Linked DNA regions of Homo sapiens: all the other regions are linked to region 3. Evidence: promoter capture Hi-C in 16 types of primary human blood cells and fetal thymus (Javierre and others, 2016). All regions are on one chromosome and are shown on one strand. Each heading gives the region's core, a stretch centred on a gene start or on the middle of the fragment in contact. The rest is flanking DNA. Distances are from core to core; before and after follow the strand shown.

Evidence for each region. The method cuts DNA at HindIII sites, captures the fragments that hold promoters and counts their contacts. A CHiCAGO score of 5 or more calls a contact.
Region 1: a contact is called between the fragment with the promoter of DNAJC21 here and the fragment with the promoter of DIMT1 in region 3, in 1 of 17 cell types (activated CD4 T cells). The highest score is 6.5, in activated CD4 T cells.
Region 2: a contact is called between the fragment with the promoter of COX7C here and the fragment with the promoter of DIMT1 in region 3, in 3 of 17 cell types (naive B cells, activated CD4 T cells and total CD4 T cells). The highest score is 6.9, in naive B cells.

What each region holds. Positions count from the first base shown.
Region 1 is chr5:34,927,539-34,932,363 of GRCh38, reverse strand. DNAJC21 (DnaJ heat shock protein family (Hsp40) member C21) reads right to left here and starts at 2,805. Exons shown (of 12, transcript NM_001012339.3): 1 at 2,448-2,805. The coding sequence starts at 2,544. LOC124900961 (a long non-coding RNA gene) reads left to right here and starts at 2,683. Exons shown (of 2, transcript XR_007058731.1): 1 at 2,683-2,715; 2 at 3,231-4,825. RefSeq lists enhancers at 2,040-2,209, 1,676-2,321 and silencers at 2,350-2,549, 2,580-2,649, 2,660-3,129. The HindIII fragment of the contact is 5,598 bases long and covers 1-3,890 here.
Region 2 is chr5:86,615,260-86,619,731 of GRCh38, reverse strand. COX7C (cytochrome c oxidase subunit 7C) reads right to left here and starts at 1,791. Exons shown (of 3, transcript NM_001867.3): 1 at 1,602-1,791; 2 at 236-379. The coding sequence starts at 1,676. The coding sequence ends at 263. RefSeq lists enhancers at 701-1,366, 1,664-1,753, 1,686-1,980, 1,367-2,032, 2,044-2,123. The HindIII fragment of the contact is 5,230 bases long and covers 1-4,472 here.
Region 3 is chr5:62,402,305-62,406,816 of GRCh38, reverse strand. DIMT1 (DIM1 rRNA methyltransferase and ribosome maturation factor) reads left to right here and starts at 2,912. Exons shown (of 12, transcript NM_014473.4): 1 at 2,912-3,123; 2 at 3,471-3,544. The coding sequence starts at 3,045. RefSeq lists an enhancer at 2,702-2,991. The HindIII fragment of the contact is 1,140 bases long and covers 2,573-3,712 here.

The DNA.
Region 1 (4,825 bases), core at 1,556-4,055, about 27 Mb after region 3:
CTGCAACCTCTGCCTCCTGGGTTCAAGCGATTCTCCTGCCTCAGCCTCCCAAGTGGCTGGGACCACAGGCGTGCGCCACCACGCCCAGCTAATTTTTGTGTTTTTAGTAGAGACAGGGTTTCACCATGTTGGCCAGGATGGTCTCCATCTCCTGACCTCAGGTGATCCGCCCACCTCAGCCCCTCAAAGTGCTGGGATTACAGGTGTGAGTCACCGCACCTGGCCGGAGCACACTAAAGTTCTTTAAGCTACAGCTCAATACTTCCCTTCTAAGAAGTTACAAGAAAACATGACAGCAATGTCTTATCTACAAATAGTTTTGCCGCCCTAGAACATGGCTCTTCAGGGCTTCCTGCTGCCCATTCTCAGATACCATCACACTGATGCCATAAATTATGATGATATTTAGAGAAGATATTTGCATTCAGTTCCTAACAGGTTTGGTTTCAAAGGAGTTAACTGATACTTTAGTCATATTTGCATGCTTCTTCCTAGCACTGATTTCTAATTAATCACCAAATCTGGTCATTTTTCCTTCCCAACATCTCCTCCCCTTGCGCTTTCCCCCTCCCGCTGACCCCAAGCCTGGCTTGGGCCCTTACCTGTCTGTCCACTGCGGACTCTCCCTAACTTCTGTCTCCAGCCCTCTTCAATCCACTAAGTTGCCTTCATAGTACTCTCCCATGGCAGCTTAATAAAACCAGCCACAACTCTCCCTTATTTAGCGAAGCAAATTTCACAGTCCTTGGGCTAATATTCAAGATTACAAGAAATACAATCTGATTTCAAACTACTCTTGTACTCAAGAAATACAATCTGATTTAAAATCACTCTTCAGAAAATTACATACGCTTTTGGTCACAGCATTCGCTACTTCATTTACCCTTTCCCACCTAGAAAGTCAAGGAATTCCGAACTTCCTTCTAATTCCTAACTTGATTTCTAACAGTAACAACCCAAACTCCTAAGAATATGCTTCTACACTAACCCAAACTCTAAGAATATACTTCTACACTATTTTTACATTTATTAATTTTGGCTGTATCTTCTGACTTACTGCTATGATGAACATCAGTTCATTTACTTCTGCTCTTCTAATATATTTATAATCACATTTTTTCACGCCTCTGTTGGTAAGCATAACTTTAAGTAACAGACCCACACCTCTATCTCTCACTCCATCACCATAGCCATTCCCTTTTGACTTTGGGTCCCTGACCTTTCCTTCCACTCCTCTCATAATCCCTATTTTTCAGACCTGCAATACACACCACCTTCAGTCAAACTGTCCCCCGGAACATCTTTTGTCCTCCACCATGCTATCCTCCATACTGTTGAGTTCACTTTTCCAAATTGCATTCCTCTACGATCCAGTCCAAACTCCTCTGAGAAGGGGAAGACTCAATACAAAATGGTAACTCCCTCCCTGAATTCCTGGAGCATATATTAGTTGTTCCATTAATCTAACCACCAATTATGTATGTTGCGATTTTTTTCTGGCAGTTGTATTTAACTTTTCATTTGTGTAAGGCAGAAAGTTGTTTTCCTAACAAGACTCTAAGACCCCTGTCTCAGCATTTCCAAATCTACTTAGTAGAGTGCAGTGACTTGCATATATTGGATACTCTGTAACCGTGTTTACTGATGAATGCTAATATGAAAGCCTCTTCATATGAACCTCAAAAAGCTGAAAGTCAACTACTCTCTTAGTTTCCCAGCCTGGAAGATCAGATTACTTCATAAAAGTCACACAGGCCTGGATTACAGACCAATGAAACATCCAAAGGAAGGATACTTCTAAGTAAACATACAAACTTTACTGGGGAAGCCGCCTGATTAAAACCTTCCCCGGCAGAATCATGTCCAAAGTGAAGTACAAGGTCTGCTTAAACAGCTTATTAAAAGAAAAAAAAAACAGCGAAAAAAGCGCATCCCTATTGAAAAGATATTTTACTAGCTCCCGTGTCTTAACTTCTTAACTAAGAAACGAAAAGAGCCATACATCAGGTTGAAGTATCTGGGATTCCCGGACGAGGTGGAGGGCAGCGGAGGAAAAACACCGAGAGGCTGCGCTGCAAGGGACGCAGGGAAAAGCAAGCCTGGGGCAGGTCTGAGTTCCGAGTTCCCGACTGCTCCCTCGTGGTGTCTGCGACCCGGTAGCGGGAGCAAGTGAGGTTGTTGGACTGCAGTTTTCCCCCTACAGTGGCGATGCGGGGCCGGGGTCGCGGGTATGAGGAGATGGGGTGTGAGCCGGGGTGCGCCAGGGCAGAGCGCTTCGCCCACCGAGACGGGCAGGGCGGCTCCGGGCACTGGCCGGGCGGGGCAAGGAGCTCCTAGGCCGCCAGGTCCCTCTCTGCTGGCTCCGCGGAGTCCGCCCGGGGGAAGGGAAGGTCGGGGAGGGCCGGGCTTCTCCGAGTGGCCGCGGGGGCTGCGGGACAGGTACTTACCCGGGTGCCATTTCAGGGCCAGCTTCCGATAGGCCTTCTTGAGCTCCTCCTCGCTGGCGTCGCGCCGCACCCCCAGCGCCTCATAGTGACACTTCATCGCCCGACCGGGCGGGCGGCCGGCGCTGGGGCCCGGGACGGGGTCGGGGCCCGGGCCCGGGCCGAAGCGGCGGCGGCGGCGGCGCTGGCAGTCCTCTCCGGCGGGAGTCCGCCGCCCGCACCGGGCCAGCCAGCGAGCCCGGCGGCGGCGGCGGCGGCGGCGGTGGTGTAGGTCAGTGAAGGCGCGCGGTGGCGGCAGACGACGCAGGCTGCGGCAAGCGGGAGCGCGGCGGGGGCGGTGCCGGCGGCCGCCGCTTCGCATGGGCTAGGGGTGGGCTCTGTGCCGGAAAGGGCCGCGCGGGAGGGGGTGGGGCCTCGGCGGGGTGAGAGGCGAGGCCCCGAGGAAGGAAGGCGGGGCCTTGGCGAGGAGAGAGGCGGGCCGCGCAGGAGAAAGGCGGGAGCTTGGCGGGGAAAGAGGCGGGCCGCGTGGGAGGAAGGTAGGCCTTGGCCGGGAAGAACAGGAGGAAGGCGGGACCTTGGTGTGAGAGGCGGGGCCTCGGCGGGGCGAGAGGCGGGGCCGCGCGGAAGGGAGGCAGGGCCACGCTGGTGTCATTGTGAGGGGCACAGATGGCGGTCAGTGTGAGTGGCAGCCGACCTGAGGGCTGAAGGGGGAGATAGGAGCTGGGATGGGAGAGGATTCTGGAAAATATCTGATTATAATTTCTCAATGGATCCCCGTTTTTATAGATAAGGCGATTCAGACTCCAAGTGGTCAAGTGGTTGGCTCAAGCCTCCTCAGCTAATACAGTAGCAGAATTCGGTTGGACTGAATATCAGGTTTTTTTTTTAATCTCTTTAATTCTCTTCAGCTGCCACTTAAGATATCTGGTATTGATCATCTTGACCAATATGCTTGAGAAAGGACAGTTAGATTATTTAAGCGGAAACAATTTAAAAGGGAAGCATCAACACACTTAATGAAAAGCCTTACCACCAACATGGATGAAATTGTGCTGATCTATCCATCCAACACACTTTAATCCTAACTTTCTGGCCTCTAATCCTACCTTTCCAAGATTGGTTTAGGTTAAGAAAGCAGTTAAAGGATAGTATTTAACTGGTAGGTTTTGGTTGATCTGACTATCTGCACAATTATTCCAAACACTTTGAAAGGTATCAAAATAATACCATAATTATTAAAATGCATTAATACACCAATATATTTCACTGTAATGTGGAATGTTTACATGCATCAGTTAGGTGTGGGTTGTATTTACTAACCATGTATGGTTAGCTATGTTGCTAATATCTATTGCACAGGGTTGGCGTACCCAAGCGGTTTAGTAAGGTTATCCTTCTCTTCCCCAATATGCTGCCCCCAGTAAAATAAAAAACCCACGCTAAGCTTCATCAGGTTACTTCACACGCCACTGACCAACCAACTCACTACTCAGAATTCATACACTTCCCTTTTTTCCAGAGGAAGATTCTACACAGTCTCAGTTAGTTGGTAAATTGGTAATGGATAAGGATTGAGAAGTCTGAGTTTGGGGGAGAATGAAACCTTTCCCCTCCTGAGAACAGAATTGGGATGGTGGGCGGGGGGAAGGGAGGGACAAAAAAAAAAAAAAAAACGGAAAGGGAAAGTATTTTTTTCCCTCCAACTTAATTTGGAGTATTTTCTCCCTCCAACTTGATTTGGTTTTGGATACAGCCTGTAGGAATCACTTACTTCTTTTACCTTCTGAAGTAAGAAGGATTTTTGCCTGTAACATTGTATAATTAAAGGTAACTATGCTGGATATAAATTTCAGTCTAAAGGAACATCTTGACCAGGCGTGGTGGCTCATGCCTGTAATCCCAGCACTTTGGGAAGCCGAGGCAGGAGGATCCCTTCAGCCCAAGAGTTCAAGACGAGCCTGGGCAACATAGCGAGAACTTGTCTCTACAAAAAAAAAAAAAAGCCAGGCATGGTGGCGTGGGCCTGTAGTCCTAGTTACTCAGGAGGCTGAGGCAGGAATACTTGAGCCCAGGAGTTAGAGCCTGCAGTGAGCTATGACCACACCACCACACTACAGCCCTGGGTGACAGAGCAAGACCCTGCCGCTAATAAATAAAGGAACATCTTTTATTAAACTGGTGCCCTTTAAATGACCAGACTTTAGAGATGATCCATTCCAGAAGAATTCTCAAATAAGATATCCATATAATTGTGAAAGGGAATTTGAGATATAAGGATATCTCTATTATGGAAACTGTTAATTGAAAATTGTGAAATTGGAAATTACACCAAAACTCCACAATGCACACATCAAAAGTACAAGTTTGTATCTCTACTAAAA
Region 2 (4,472 bases), core at 542-3,041, about 24 Mb before region 3:
ACATGAGATATCGATGTAAAGTGTACCTGATAAGCAGTAGTATTCAATAAACACTGGCCATTATTGAAATATTTTTATATAGGTTTACAACTAGTCTCCACCAATGCCACATCTACACATAACCTCAGGAATCAGCCCTACACAACAATGTATTTGTGTGTGTGTTCTGGGTGATGGGGAAGAGGCTACTTAATAAAAAGGCCTGCTTTAACATGATTAGAAATCCACTAACTACCTGTTAAATGGAGGAACTGAAACATCCTTATGTTTTAAGCAGTTGGTGTCTTACTACAAGGAAGGGTGTAGCAAATGCAGATCCAAAGTACAAACACATCTTAGCTAGTAACGACCACTTGTTTTCCACTGAAAATGGCAAATTCTGTTGGAAAAAAAGAGAAAAAGTAATCGAAATTGAATCTCAAATCATCTGCTTAATAATCAAAATACAAGTATACAGGAAATGCTAGTTATATTTTACATCATCAGGTTAACATATGCCATAAATCATAACATCGTTTTAAACATTTATCTTTCAAATCCTATGACCTTCATCACAAAACACTACATGGCAAGAAATAATCTGGCTTTACTAAGCACTAGGCAATGAATGGTCTTGAGGACTCAAACGTCAAATAGTGAGAAGTTTCTTACTTTAGAAAATCGAAAAAACTACTGTCCTAAGTAGTCACCTTAGAAGATACATGGCAATGTTAAGTGCAATACAGCTCTTTTTTTTTCTTTTTTTTTTTTTTTGAGACGGAGTCCCGCTCTGTCCAGGCTGGAGTGCAGTGGCCCGATCTCGGCTCACTGCAACCTCCACCTCCCGGGTTCAAGCGATTCTCCTGCCTCAGCCTCCCGAGTAGCTGGGATTAGAGGCACACACCACCACGTCCGGCTAATTTTTTTGTACTTTTTAGTAGAGACAGGGTTTCGCCATGTTGGCCAGGCTGGTCTGGAACTCCTGACCTCAGGTGATCCGAACGCCTTAGCCTCCCGATTACAGGCGTGCGCCACCGCACCTGGCCCACAGTTTTTTTTGTTTGTTTGTTTTTCATTACCAAGCACCTTCTCTGGCCTTTATGACTAGGCCTCGTGTGACCCTCCGAGATTGTTACTGCTATGTGGTTTAAGTTATTTACACCTGAGGCCAAACCCAGCCTTAACTGAGGTGAAGGGTTAGTACTTCTAACTTAGGCAGCTAGTTTAAAAAGCCTGTTCCATAACCAGAGGCCCTGATTTCCTCATGATTTTCCAATGACCTTCATTTCGGGTCCGATGACCTCCAGCTCGGATTTAACCAACACACCTACAGCCGTGGCCTCCCGGAGCCATCTCAGGGCTTTCTGCGGGGCGGGGGAGGGGGCGTCAGGTGGCTGATGGAGGCAGGGCTTCCGGATCTACCTGCCCATTCCTTTAGCGGCTACGCGCTAGGATGCCCAGCTTCCTCACTGGTCCTTGGGCTAAGTGGAATGCTAGTCTGCGTCTCAGCCTGGTTTCTGGCTATCATCTCCCACGCCACAGCCCGGAGGCGGCCTTGCAGGTGCGCGAGTCACAGCCAAGCGCCCCCTCCCCCAACGAAGCCGTGCCCCTTACACACTAACCTTCCCAGGGCCCTCCTCATAGTGGCTCCTACGGACCACAGAGGTTGTGAACCTCCGGATGCTCTGGCCCAACATACCGCTGCTGGAAGCTCTGCGAAAGGCGCAGAGAATGAGGACAGATGAAATGGCGGCACCTCACCAAGACCTTTTTTTTCACGACCTTGTTCCCCGGTGCGCAAGGACTGAAAAGAAAGATGGGAAATGGGGCGGAGCCTTGAGGAAACGCGACAAAGCGGAAATCGCCCTGGATTGTGGGAATTGTAGTTCAGACCATTGCGGAGCCTTATCAGCCCCCGAAGGATTGTGGGAAATGTAGTTTCGCGCCAGGCTTAGGTCTAGGATTCCTGGGGCCTGTTACCGGAAACGATTTTATTGAATCAAGTGAAGCAGTTTCACCCCGTATACTCTAGTCTGTTGAAAAGGACAATAAACCCATCCCTTTTCTCTTCTTTCTTTCTTTTTTAAAAATAAAGTATATGCTAGGTGTCAATGATTTCGAGGACTTTTGCCAATGCTGAGAGATATGTGCTAATGATCCTAGCTGAAGAAACAAAGCATAAACACAAGTAATCAAACAACGTGCAGCACAAAGGACTTCAGAGAGAAAACTGAAATGCTAAGGGAATGATCACTAAAGATAATGGGAATCGAATAAAAAAGAAGGAAGAACAAAGGGCAGGGAAAACTCAAGTCTGGTATGAGTACAGCATGTGTGAGGAGTAGAAGGGAAAAGTGGCCTCTGACACCTGGAGCTAGCCTGGACTAGGAACTGGTGTCCGCCTGATGAACGTACACAATTTCAGCAAGCATTAGCATCCAACAAGACCACTCTGACAGTGTTCATTAAGAAAAGAATATGATCACTGTGTAATCACATCTGAACACAGATAAAACATTGTCCAAGCCACGAAAATGACCGGACATCACCCTATCTGGTTTAATTTGATGACTTCTGCTTCTTTACCAATTACAATCTTAGCCTTGATCTAGCCTTTCTTCCTCCTAAGATTTGGTAAGGTAGCCAATATTAGGAGAAAAAAATCCCAAATCCAATAAGCATTTTCTAATATTTTACAGAGAACCCTTACTGCAATGAATAATAAACCCCGTTTGTCAATTACATGTGTGCTTCTGGTGGTCTTTGACCAGAAGGTATTGAGAAGAAACCAGTGATAAATGAACCTGGGAAAGTGGTGTTAGGTTAGATTGTGAAAGGCCCTGGTAACCTAAATGTTATGTTATTCATCTGTGGGGGAGTGTATATTGCCTCACGTGTCTCATTTATATAGCATTAGGAAACAATTCCAATAAGACCTAAGGTTTGCTTTGAAAAGGGCATAACATATATGCTCTTTTCGTCTTTTTTTTTTTTTTTTTTTTCAGTTTTTGGAAGAGAACAACCATGCCCCTCCCCCCCAAAAAAACACTTAAAAAAAACACTTAAATTCATATTTTGTTTCAACAAGTAGCTTCTTTTTGAGTAGGGGTTCATGAAATGCATCATAACTGGTGTCCTCTACCACCTAATTTATAGAAGTTATGTGACATTCCATTTTTTTTTAACATTCCGTTCACTGCCTTTACATATTAAAGAATTCTGATTTAACTATAATTGAGAAACTTTTTCACACTTAATATTTCTAGATTACACTTTTCAATCTAGTGTGAGTAATGTTATCTGTGGATTTGGTTCATTGTTGCTTCTAATTCACATTAATTGAGCCTCCATTGGGTATCTGGCTTTGAGTTAACTCTTTAGGGACCTGCAGGGCAGAGATTCCAGAATATGGTTTCAGAACTGTCTGCCTTCTCATGGGCTTTGTGGTAAGTTAAATACAAAAAAAAAAAATATGTTTGGCCGGGCGCGGTGGCTCACGCCTGTAATCCCAGCACTTTGGGAGGCCAAGGCAGGCGGATCACGAGGTCAGGAGATTGAGACCATCCTGGCTAACACGGTGAAACCCCGTCTCTACTAAAAATACAAAAAATTAGCCGGGCGTGGTGTCGGGCGCCTGTAGTCCCAGCTACTTGGGAGGCGGGGGCAGGAGAATGGTGTGAACCCGGGAGGCAGAGCGTGCAGTGAGCCGAGATCACACCACTGCACTCCAGCCTGGGCGACAGAGCGAGACTCCATCTCAAAAAAAAAAAAAAAAAAAGTTTATACCTATGTAAATATGGGGGAGGGTGGTGGTTACACTCAAGTGCCGGGCATGTGAGTGAAGCTATCTTGGACACTTCAGCCCAGCCCCGCCCTCAGCTGAATATTGCTGAGTGACCACAGTCACTGCTGTGTGGAGCAGAGTTGTCTAGTTGACTCCTACCCAAAATGTTGTTCTAGAGATTTGTGTGGTATAATAAAATGGTTGTTTTTTCAAGTCATTAAGTTTGGGGTAGTTTTTTATGGAGCAACAAAGAGAGAACTAGAAGTAACACAGCTGTTCTATTTAAGGAAATTAGCCTTTCTTCTAGATGCCATGAGGAAAACAGTTTCTCATTACCAATCTGTAGATGAGAATTTGGCTGTATCATGTAAAATATTATCTTTGCTTCAAATATATCTTTCTCTGGAGTCATGTTTCTGTGATAGTTCTTCAGCTATAATGAAGATGGATGTGCCAAACATGCCAAAACATTGAAAGTATGGGAGGTAGAGTGGTTCCATTTGAAGGTGGTGTAGCAGCTGGCATATTCTAGAGAATGCTAGACACTCAGAAATGCACTTTGCAGCTTTTTGATGCTACTGATAAGTTAGGAGGTAAATTGAAGTGGGATTCAAAGTGGCTGAGATCACTCATTCTTGGCAGATTACTGACTTTTGTATTAGTGGCTAGATACCACCTATAGAGCACACTCTTGAGAATTATTTCAAAA
Region 3 (4,512 bases), core at 1,663-4,162:
ATGCCTGTAATCCCTGCACTTTGGGAGGGCAAGGCGGGCAGACCACTTGAGGCCAGTTCAAGACCAGCATGGGCAACATGGTGAAAACCCATCTCTACTAAAAATACAAAAAAAAAAAAAAAAATTAGCCAGCGTGGTGGTGGTGCACGCCTGCAATCCCAGCTACTTGAGAGGCTGAGGCATGAGAATAGCTTGAATCTGGGAGGCTGAGGTTGCAGTGAGCCAAGATCATGGCACTGCACTGCAGCCTGGGTGACAGAGCAAGGCTCTATCTTAAAATATATATATATATATATATTTATATTTATATATGTTTATATTTATATTTAAATATATATATTTATATTATATATATGAGTTGTGTCTTTAACAGCAAACAAAAGTTAGCCAGGGGAAGGTCGAGAATGCAAAAGGAAGAGCACTCACAAAGCCGAGGTATAAAGATGTTTAAGGAAGAAAAAGGAACTTGATAACGTTGGGAAGTAAATAAGTAAGGTAAATAGGAACTTAATTTGAAAGGCCTACAATGCTATTCTAGGGAGCAATAGTGGTCATTCATTGATGAATCAAAAGAACAATTTTGCCTTCTCTGCTCTTGTCTCCAGGCTGTGGTTACACAGCAGTACACATTGGAGATACTGGGCTCCACATTTAGCTGGAAGACATGCCATGTCTTCTTGAGTTCCCTCTAATCTTCCTCTCCCATTGCGCATAAAGGATCTTCAAACCTTCTCCGCACTCATGCCCCTTGTCCTACCACCTCCACAGCTCCTTCTCTACAGAAAAACTTGCCTTTTATTTCACAGAAGAAATGCAACCTAGAGGCCAAAGCAGGCAGATCACTTGAGCTGAGAAGTTTGAGATCAGCCTGGGGAACAAAGTGAGACCCCGCCTCTACAAAAATTACAAAAATTAGCTGGACAAGATGATTCATGTCTGTCGTCTCAGCTACTCGGGAGGCTGAGGTGAGAGCATCGCTTGAGCCCGGCAGGCGGAGGTTGCAGTGAGCTGAGATCATGCCGCTGCACTCCAGCCTGGGTGACAGAGTGAGACCGTCTCAAAAAAACAAAACCAAAAAACCCAACAACAACAACAATAACAAATCACACACAGGGTTTTGTGTCATGTTAATTTTTTTTTTTTAAACAGGGTATCATGCTGTCGCCCAGGTTGGTGCAATCTTGGCTCACTACAAATTCTCGGGCTCAAGTGAGGCTCCCACCTCAGCTTCCCGAGTAGCTGAGACTACAGGCCTGCACCACCACGCCTGGCTAATTTTTGTATTTTTTGTAGAGACGGGGTCTCACTTTGTTGCCCAGGTTGATCTCAAACTTCTCAGCTCAAGTGATCCGCTCGCCTTGGCCTCTCAAAGTGCTGGGATTACAGGCATGAGCCACCTCTCCAGGCCATGTCCATCCTATTAACATTTGGAAGTGCCTAGCACAGTGTACTCTTTAGAATTGTGGAATAACAATGATTGATGAAATGAAACATATACTTGAAGATGCTACTAGGGTATACGAGATTTTTTTTCTGACTTAGAACTACATCAAAGAAAGAAGGGCCTAAGACCAAGGTTTGGGAATGTACACAATGAATTGCTCAAAAGAGAGTTAGCTTTAGTAATGACAGGAAGAAGCTATTTCTTCAACCAAACAGAATACACACAGAAAAATTTAAAAGAGCCATTACACTGGCTGGCAAAACAGATGTGGATATTATGGCCCTGGTACACACGGAGTTTATAGTCAGGTACACTGTCCTGTCACAACGACCAATACGTTATCGTATTTACAGCGTTTTGGAGTTTCTGTCCATCTCTGTCAATATAATACACTTTGAAATAAGTTTCTTACTTAGAATCCCTAGCAGTGTTTGATACACAGTTGGAGCTCAATAAATGTTTACGGAGTGAATGATGAGGCACAAAAGGAATTTGTTGAATTATTTGTTAAATGAATCAAATAATTTTCTAGGATTCACGGGCTGTCTTCTGCACGATAAGCTTCATTCTGTGGGTCTGAGTTTCTCCTGGTTCTCAATTCTGTCTTTTTGTGGATTATCTACTTTGTAGCTGGAGCTTTGTATCTGTTTAAGATAATTATTCTTCTATTCCTTTTTTTTTTTTTTTTTTTTTGAGACGGAGTCTCGCTCTGCCGCCCAGGCTGGAGTGCAGTAGCGCGATCTCGGCTCACTGCAACCTCCGCCTCCTGGGTTCACGCCACTCTCCTGCCTCAGTCTCCCAAGTAGCTGAGACTACAGGCGCCCACCACCACGCCCGGCTAATTTTTTGTATTTTTAGTAGAGACGGGGTTTCCCCGTGTTAGCCAGGATGGTCTCGATCTCCTGACCTTGTGATCCGCCCGCCTCTGCCTCCCAGAGTGCTGGGATTACAGGCGTGAGCCTCCGCGCCCGGCTCTTCTATTCTTAGTAGAAGCAACCAGTAGCCCTAGCGAAACCAGACGTTAATTCCATTCTCGCAGTTCTTTTCCCCAGGGCAAGCAGCAAAAAATGCATTCCCACAAAAGAGCAAGCTCATCCCCAAATCCCGGGTTTCCCACCCCCACAAGCTTCAGGAAAACAGGAGCGAGGCACGTGAATACTTCTTTGGACCTCAGCGATCCCAGAACCTAGGCTACTAAAACATCCATAGGCTTAACCTCATCATATAACTTAAACAGCCTTCGCAACACCGAGAGCACCACACCAACACCTTCTTATCCAGCCCTGGTTGGGACAAGGGCTCCAACTCCAGACTGCAGTCCTCGGTAGCGCGGTGTCTTCTGGGATCTGTAGGCTCCCGCGGTTCGGCCTTCCTCCCTCTGTGACTCCAATTCCCGGCAGTCAGTGGGCTCCAAGGTCCGCCCTTTTTCTGGAGGAGGAGCTCAGAGCGTACGGGAGGGGGCGGACCCTTGCCCCTCCGGCGCTTGGGCCAGAGTGGTGCGGGCGGCGCGTGGCGGCGATCCCCACGTGGTGGCTTTCTCACGCTAGCCCTCTTTGGTCCTCCTTGACGTCCCGGGCCTGTGGGCCCGCTTTCTGCCGAGATGCCGAAGGTCAAGTCGGGGGCCATCGGCCGCCGCCGCGGGCGGCAGGAGCAGCGCCGGGAGCTGAAGAGCGCTGGAGGTGCGGATCCCCGCGAGGAAGCTGGGGTCGGTCGGGTCAGGTCTTCCGGCAGGACCTAGCCTGGGGTGCGGACCAAGACCTGATCGGCAGAGGCCGGTCAGGACGCGCTCCCGTGAGCGCGGAAGGCAGGGGTGGGTCCCCGACTCGGCCGCAGGCCCTGCGCGTCGCCGCTGACTTCCTTTCCAGCTGGAGGATGAACTTATAAAGAGTTTGTCAGTCCTGGCGTGACGTTTCGTGGCCCTGGTTGGCGCAGAAATCTTCCCCATACCCATGCAGCTTTCTTCTCTGGTACTGCCTAATATCTAATCTCAGTAGGAAAATTAATGCTGTTTCGTATTTTCTTACAGGACTCATGTTCAACACGGGGATTGGGCAGCACATTTTGAAAAATCCTCTCATTATTAACAGCATTATCGATAAGGTGGGTGTGGAAGAGGAAAGGGAGAGAGTTGTTGGTTTATTAATTTTATTCCTATGAATACATAAGCGCAGAAAGTCTGCCTGCCGTAAATTAGATGCTCTGTAAATATTTGTTGAATGAATCAAATAATTGTCTAGGATTCTTGGGCTGTCTTCTGCATGATAAGCTTCATTTTGTGGGTCTGAGTTTCTCCTGGTTCCCAATTCTGTGTCTTTTTGTGGATTATCTACTTTATAGCTGGACCTTTGTATTTGTTCAAGATAATTATTCTTCTATTTCTAATCACCTTTTTGATCACTTAGTTTTTATGTACTCCATCTATTTATGTCTAAACTACACATTAGAAAGTTTGTTCCCCAGAAAAACATATAGTACTACATATAAATTATTTGGTGTATGCTAGTACCACATATAAATTGCTTGGAGTATTACTGCTTTCTGAGTTATTGATGTTCTCTTATGGTTATGGATGATTGGGTGTTAGGAAGTGAAATACACACGGTGCAGATTACACTTATGGTTAAAAGCAAGGAAAGCATCCTGGAGCTGTAGAAAGAGCATTACATAGTTAAAGGATCTTGTCAGGCTTCGTGTCATTTGAAAACTGAGAAAAAAAGAAAGAAGGGTCATGTACTATTTTAACCTTTTTAGCTCATAGTTTCCTTTGAGCATCTGATGAAAGCTATGGCCGTAGAATATTAGAGCTGTGTGCAGACATTCAATTTTGTGTACAGTTTCTGCTCTTCTGCATCCTTGAAACCATACATGGGTTGAAAATTGAAAAATCTTCGCCCAACACGTACAGTCCTTTCCCATTTGAACTTGTTGATACGAACAGAGAAGGTAACAAGAGGCTATTGGAATATTTCCAGATAGAAAGCAGAATGCCAATCCCAGAAATGCTGTTGCTGCTTTTCTGACTCCTAAAGTTGAACAGTATTCCTCCAAGTTAGGAGAGGTCTTAGATT